Regions from separate parts of the Homo sapiens genome. Here region 1 is linked to region 2. The links are contacts of gene promoters, found by promoter capture Hi-C in human tissues and cell types (Jung and others, 2019). All regions are on one chromosome and are shown on one strand. The core of a region is centred on a gene start or on the middle of the fragment in contact, and the rest is flanking DNA. Distances in the headings are between cores, read along the strand shown. Region 1 has its middle 81 kb from the start of NEBL-AS1. Region 2 holds the start of SKIDA1 (SKI/DACH domain containing 1).

Evidence for each region. Contacts are between HindIII fragments. The study calls those that stand out against the background at their distance.
Region 1: a contact is called between a fragment that was not itself captured here and the fragment with the promoter of SKIDA1 in region 2, in 1 of the 25 tissues and cell types used here (dorsolateral prefrontal cortex).

The regions. Positions count from the first base shown.
Region 1 is chr10:21,091,452-21,095,346 of GRCh38, reverse strand. It overlaps a transcript of NEBL not described here. Among named protein-coding and RNA genes, the nearest start is that of NEBL-AS1, 81 kb to the left of the region's middle. The HindIII fragment of the contact is 3,576 bases long and covers 590-3,895 here.
Region 2 is chr10:21,523,306-21,527,171 of GRCh38, reverse strand. It overlaps SKIDA1 (SKI/DACH domain containing 1), which reads left to right and starts at 1,490. Exons shown (of 4, transcript NM_207371.4): 1 at 1,490-1,625; 2 at 3,301-3,489. RefSeq lists silencers at 1-20, 466-615, 736-1,155 and enhancers at 811-1,454, 1,455-2,098. The HindIII fragment of the contact is 2,515 bases long and covers 156-2,670 here.

The DNA of each region.
Region 1 (3,895 bases), core at 1,128-3,627, 430 kb after region 2:
GTCTTATCTTTTATCTGCTTTTCTTAGGCTAGAATTTCCCTGGTTCCATCACTACCTGGGCCAAATGTCTTTACCTTTTACCACTCCCTAGATAACTCCCTGTTGGATGGAACTTTTGTGAGGGTCAGCTTTCAGGGCAGGGGTTCTGAAATCTTAGTGGACTTATGAACAGTCTAGAGAGCTGATTCATGGGCCCCACCTCTAGATTCTGATATGGTTGGTTGGTCTGAGATGAGGCCTTGGAATGTGAATTGGAAACAAACCTTTCTATCTAAGTGAGTTCTCAATGGGATGCAGGTGGTTCCCAGATCATAATGCTTAGTGGTGTCAGATTTTGAATACACTACTATGGATATAGGCACACCTACACTTTGGATCCCTTCACCTAATTATAGGGAGCGTTTTCTGTGTTCTGTCTGTTGGCCCAAGGATTTTCTTCACCATCACCTGGGAAACTATGACGAGAGGGTTCTAGTCTCTCCTACGATACTGCCATTCTTCCAATTGCTGAATCTGGTTCGGTGAAATTAATTTTACAATGTGAGACTTAGAAGCAAAGAGGTGACCTTGCTTTGTCATCTGATGTTAACAGGAGTCTGTAATATTCATGCCACCACCCAAGAGTCCCATTTACAAAGGAGCAGACTTCTGGTCTTCTTTAGCCTTTTTTGTTTCTTCCAACAAAAATCCAGGCTGGAGTGGATTAGGGCAATCTCAGCTCACTGAAACCTCTGCCTCCCAGGCTCAAGTGATTCCCTTGCTTCAGCCTCCGAGTAGCTGGGATTACAGGCACTCCACCACCACATCTGGCTAATTTTTTTTTTTTTTTTTTTTTTTTTTTTTTTTTGAGACGGAGTCTCGCTGTCTCCCAGGCTGGAGTGCAGTGGCACAATCTCGGCTCACTGCAAGCTCCGCCTCTGTGGTTCACGCCATTCTCCTGCCTCAGCCTCCCAAGTAGCTGGGACTACAGGCGCCTGCCACTGCACCCGGCTAATTTTTTATATTTTTAGTAGAGACGGGGTTTCACCGTATTAGCCAGGATGGTCTCGATCTCCTGACCTCGTGATCCGCCCACCTCGGCCTCCCAAAGTGCTGGGATTACAGGCGTGAGCCACCGTCTCCGGCCTACACCTGGCTAATTTTTATATTTCTAGTAGAGATGGGGTTTTGCCATGTTGGCCAGGCTGGTCTTGAACTCCTGACCTCAAGTGATCCTCCCACTTCAGCCTCCCAAAGTGTTGGCATTACAAGCGTGAGCTACCACACCCAGCCCGGTCTTTTTTAGACTCTTAAGGACCCATAAGAACAAATTAAGTTGAGTAGTGATGCTTAATGTGTCAAACCACAGATAAATATAGTTTTCTATGGAAAGCTTAGAATGGAAAATAGTCTTTCACAAAAACGACAAAATGTTTTCTGGTTCCCGCAAAAAATATCTCTGTAGAAAAGAAGGTCAGTGAGAACTTTGTGTGATTCATGGATCATGAGTAACACATGCAATGAAGGCTAAGGAAACCAGTCTAGGACATTTTTATAAAAGATTTTCACAAGAAATGTATTGATTTGTTTACGAAGCAGTAGATTTTTCAGGATAAAATATTGTTCTCCTCTTCCAGTGGATGAGCTTAGATATACCTGAACAAGACAGAGATCTGTGGATACATGAGCTGAAGACATTCTGTATGTCTTTTCCTTTTCTTGGTTCTACCAACTCTTAATCTTGAAGAAAGCACTTAAAATGCTGTGACCCCCATCTGGTTGCATATTCTTTCTCCTGTTTCAGCTTGTTGGCAAGACTGGAAATTTGGAGATGGCATTCAGTTTACACAAGCTTAGCAGCTTATGAACACTGATGGATTTTTTCAGTGCCGATGGAGGGACTGATGAACTTGGCTTTGGGCGTCTGGTTCCCTTGACTTGATGGGTGAGAGGAGGAGACAGAGCAAGCCAAGAGAGATGACAGTCTCCCTTCTCCAGCCCATTTCTTTTTTTCTCACCTATAAAATTTTGTCCAACTCATGGTCCTATGATAAAATGCGTCCAATGCTTCTGGGCTGGTGGACCCTGGCACTACCATTCATGTCTTTCCCAAATACTTATCCTCTGAGTCACCCAGGCAGAAACAGCCAAGTGAAAAGATACCATATCTTGAAGAATCTTCATTTGGCTCTGCTAAAATGGAAAAAAAAAAAAAAAGACTTGTTGCTAAATGAATAAAAGTACTCTTAAAAAATTATTTCCTCTTTTCTCCTTGGTAGATACGCAAGAAGCCAAGAACAAAAATAAAATACAATAAATTGTACAAGGCAATTTAGATTTTCATTATTCTCTTGTCATAAACTGTTCCCACATCAGAGAAAATATACTGTGAGTCCACTTTGGATCCTGTCCATATGGGCTAGCTACTGAAAGTTCCAGAAAGACTTTAGAGTAATATAATTTCACAAGTTGCTTGGCATGGGTCTCTGATGGACAGGCTGGGAAAGCTGATAACATAAGCTGGTGAAAAGGCAAAGGCTTTTTAATGCCTTACTCGATTCATTCTTCATAAGAAATATCAGATGTGAAGGGGCCTGGAACAGTTCCCAGGTTTGATGAAAGTAGAGAGTCAAAATAGAAAAAGAGTTAAAAAGTGCTTTGAAGAACTGGAACTATTTGTATTAGTAAGGCCTGTTGGCTACTAAAGGAACTGGCAGGTGCTACTCTGGTGGTGAGCCATTATTATTATTATTATTATTATTATTATTATTATTATTATTAAATTATAGAGGTAAAAAGAAGTCCATGTGAATTAAAATATAGTATTGTGACTAGCTTATAAAACACACAGCCAGAATAGATTGACAAGGGAAATTATAGGCAGGTCAGACGAACTTCAAATACATGAAGTGATATCGGAATAAATCATCACATAATTTACTGTTACTTCTAGAGGAACATAGTAAAAAACAGGGTTTTGCACAAACTAAATGGTATTAGAGCAATCTAACTGCCTTCTATATTTAGAAGCACAGGCAAACAGTGGGATAGTACTAGATATGTTTATTTTAACTTTGGGAAGCTGGTGCTTTCTCTTGACTGTAGTAATGGCATATCAATGAATGAATGAATGAATGAATGGCACACCCGTAGAACATGTATCCTTGTTCCCACAATCAATGAAAGACCATATGAGTAGTGATAGCACATAACGACCAGTTCTGCTTAATGTATCTTTGGACAACTTGATGAAGAATTGAGAACAGAACTCTTCCATTATCAGATTGCCTGTAGTTGCTGATACTCTGTAAGATACGACATAACTAAAATCGCCCTTAACAAATAGAAGAAAAAGATATGTTATAGGGTTAAATTAGCTATGGGTAAAAATATCAATAGCAAATGCAAGATGAGAAAAAACTATCTGAAAGTGACAAGGTGGGCGTGGTGGCTCTTGCCGGTAATCCCAGCATTTTGAGAGGCTGAGGCAAGAGGATTGCTTGAGTCCAGGAGTTCAAGATCAGCCAGGGTAAGATAGCAAGACTCCATTTCTACAAAAAATAAAAATAAAAAAATTTGCCTTGTGTAGTTGCGTGCATCTGTAGTATTAGCAACTTGGGAGCCTGAAATGGGAGGATCCCTTGAGCCCAGGAGTTTGAGGCTGCAGTGAGCTATAATTGCGCCACTGTACTTCAGCCTTGGACAGAGTGAGACCCTGACCCCCATCCCCCAAATAATATAATAAAATGAAAGTAGCAATCTAAGCATGAATTAATAAGTTCAAGTGGAGAGATGAAGAACAACGACTGAATTTGGGAGAATTTCAGAGGAAACTTGAGGTACTGATAGCTAATTGGATAAAGAAGTGAAGTATTTTTGTTTTGTGTTAACAGTGTATTTTGTAGGCTGCCTATTT
Region 2 (3,866 bases), core at 241-2,740:
CCGCCCGGACCTAGCGGGCCCTCCTTCCCCCGATTCCAACCCACTGCGCTTCCTCCCAAGACTCCAGCTTCTTCCCCTCAGCCGCCGCCTTCGCGCCCTTTTCTGAATGTATTTTTACAATTTCCCCCTTCATTTCCAAAAGTGGCTGAGAAGTCTCGCTTCCATCTTAATGTTGATTTGCTATTTCCCTCCGGAAAAGATTTCCTCAGGAAACCCCAAATCTAGAAGGAAATACAGCAAACCCTAGAACGCTTTTAACCCTTAAGACATCTTGTATTAAAAGAAAAAAAAAGCATGTATGTCTTAAAACCGGCCAAAGAACCATCTCCTCGCTCTTTATTTCCTCCTGTAAATGCTATTATTTTAAACTCTCCATTTTAAACTCGTCCTTCGGACGAGAGGGCAGAGAATGTGCCCGGCAGCACGCAGCAAATCAGAGGTTTTATCTTACGCCTCCTGGGACTGGGAAAAAAAGTGGAACGTGGCCGAGGGAGCTTCCAGGGCAGAAAAGCGACACAATTCGCTGGGGACGCCGCTGGGCCAGGCCAGGCGGGGGAGGCGCGGCGGGGGCGTCGAGGGCTCTCGGGCTCCGGGCCGGGGCGCCGCTGCGAGGAGGGGAGGCGGTTTTAAGTCATGGGGGCTGGGAGGGCGGCGGCGGGTCGGGCGTGACGAGACTTTCGGAGGCAGGATGGGGCGGCGGTGGAGTTGCCTGGGCTTTCTCAGCACCCCCCCCAACACACCCAAATAAAAAAAGGAAAGTTAGAAGGAGGCGGAGAGGAGGACAGCCATCCCCATTTCCTCCCCGCGACGCCGCGGAAGGGCTGGGGCCGCTGCGAGCAGAGAGAGGGCGCGGGATGAGGCGGGCCAATCGCAGTCAACAGGTCCAGGCCTCAGTGGGGCAGCTGAGCCGGGAGGCCGGCGCCCCCTCCCCTCGGCTCCCCGTCCCTCCCCTCCCTCGCAGGCCCGGCGCGGTAGGGGAGGCCCGGCCCGGCCCTCCCCGCCCCGCGCGGACTCGCTGCGGCCGACTCCGCCGGGGCAGTCGGGGTGGGGGTGGGGCGGGGGTTCCCCGCCGGAGAATCCTCCCCCGGGGCTGGCGGCGGGGGCGGGGAGCGAGAGCCGGGAATGGAGGATTAGGAAGGACTCCAGCTCGGCACGAGCGCGGCCCGCGCGAGGGATCCTGGGTAAAAAGTGGCCGCGCGGCACCGGAGAGCGCGGAGAGGAGCCGGGGTCAGGGGTCACGGCCCTGGAGCCCCGCGTGCAGAGCCCCCCACGTGAACGCAGCGAGCAGGAGGAACCTTTTTGTTTTCGACCGCGCCAGCATGCTCCCCTATTGACCGAGCTGCTTTTCCTGGGCTGCTGGGGAGAGGAGCTCCATTGCGGAGCTCTTAACCCCACCCCCACCTTCCACCGCCAACACACTTCCCAACTCAACCCTTCCTCTCAACTCTCATCCCAGCCCCCCGTCCTGAGCTTGCAATAACGCAGTAAATTTGCTTTAACAACAAGTGGGGGTGGTTGAATTTACTCCTCCCTCTCCTCTCTCCTCCCCTTCCTCTTGCTGCGGTTCTTGACACTACTACAAACCAGGACTATAAACATAAACATGTGTCACTGTAACAGGGCAGGTAATATACGGATTTTGAGGCGGGGTGGGGTGGAGCGGGGCTTGGTCGCCGCTTGGAGGGCAGTAAAAAGTCGCGTTTCACGTGCTCGACGGCTTTGGGGACTCCCGCACACATCGATCCGTTTATATAATGCCGAAGGCACTTGGTCACTTATTCAGCCACGCAGACCCACAAAGCCAGACTTGCGGATAACCAGCGTACCCCAAAGCAAATGCATTTCAATACGAATCCCTCTCCTTTCCCAGCCAGTGCTGCCATTTCTTCTATTAGCAAACAGTAACGTGATACTTGAATCCCCTTTCCTTTTTAAAAATTCTTTTCCAGATAGCCATGAGATCATTTTTCGACCTAAATAGTACATCTCTCCCATAGCCACTACCTACACATTTTGTGCGCAGAAACCCCTTCAAACAGCAAGAAAGTCTATTTAAATGACTGAGTTCGAAATCTGGTGTGCAAAGGGTATTTCTTGGGCTTTGCCTCCGTGCATTGAGCAACTTCTGCTGCAAGTTGCTGACACTGGCGCGGTGGAGATCCGCCACAGCAAGCCTTTTTTATTATTATTTAGTCTATATCTGCCTCTCAACTTTTTTCTCATTCTTAGTTCAACAAGCCAGCAACCACTACTTAAGGTAGAGTAAAGCGAATCCCTTCCCAAGCTTTTTGGCTTGAAACGGAGGGAGATACAGAAAATGTTCAGATGGGGAAGTGGTTCCCTTTGTTCTTTCATTGTTTCTCTACGAACTGGTGGATACAAGGACAAACACTTACCTTCTCTTCTTTTTGCTCCACAAACCAGACGTTCCCATCAGCCTTAAAATACACAATCCACCTTGAAAGTAACTACGGATGTCGGGAGAGTTTGTATTCCATTCTTTTTCGCTCTCTGCCCTCTTTTAGCGTAGGATTAAGTTGCAGAGCACGTTGCTGCAAGCTGTAGCCCCCCCCCCCCCCCGCCTTAGTGAATCGGTCACGTTTAGGACCCTCTAAGTCCATCCTAATTCTGCCAGTAGAATTGAGGGTATTGGAGCTCTAAACTTTCAAAAGGAAAGGGGCCTGCAACTCTCCAGAAAACTTACAAATACCCCGAAATTTTTTACCATTGTGTTTTTGCACCACATCACCAAATAGTATTTGCCAAGAAATAATAGATATGTCTTTGAGAAAAAAAAATTTTTTTAAGTTTATACTTAGCAATGCGCTGCTTAGACAGATGTAGTAAAAGGCAGGTTTGTATCGGCATTTAACGGAATGAGTGCGTTTTCCATAACGTTTGTTGTGCCATGTGTTTTTTTAAAACACAAACAAAACACTACCCCAACTGAGAAAGGAAATAGAAGTTTGAATTAAAATGTTGTGGAACAACTTTAAAAGAGACGTTTACTTGAAATTTATTAGTGTAAAAATTGGCCTCAGAAGTGAAAAGTAAGCTTTTCAAAGTTAAAAGACTTAATTTTCACCCTATGATTCCATAACAAAAAAGCGAATTTTCTGGTTAATATGTGATACTGTCAGTGTTGAGTGTCCAGTCTTTTGGGTCTTAGTGTCCAAACCTTGCTCAAATCTGATTATGATGTGATTTGCTGATGTCATGAATATGAAATGATACTTGTGTATCCATAAATTCGAACTTGTGATTTTTTTTTTTTTTTTTTTATCTCCCGCTTTTTTGTAGGTTCCCAGTAGCTGCAGCAGTGAAAGACAGTGATTGGCTCCAGTGCTCCCAGAAGGATTTGGGCTGAAGCCAGGGGAACAGAACCAGAAGAGGATTCCCTTTCCAGAGACCATCAGGCTCCTCATGTCTTGTCTCTCCTCTCTCCCCTCGTGGTGGCTCAGGATTTCAGTATGGCTGAGCAGCCCATAGGTAGGCCTCAACACTTGGTGTCACCACTTCAGTCTCTATATGTTTGGCCCTTGTGTAAAATAAACAAAAACTTGGGCAACCCTAACAAATTGTGGTTCTGGATATTTGTGTATTATTTAATATCTGAAGGTCAAACTCTACTTTCTCTGATTTTTTTTCTTTTGCATTCAGGATCAATTGTGAAAGGCCCATGTGTCTCATAGGAAAATATTACAACAAAACAAGATAATTGGGGGGAAAGGCGGTTGCAGTAGGAAAAGTGGCTTTTCTTTGATAGCATTTAATTGGAATTAAAAGATTCTTGAGCTGTAAACATTCTTTATTTATTCAGCACACATAAGCAGGCATTGTTTTATCACCATCATAATTATGGTGTC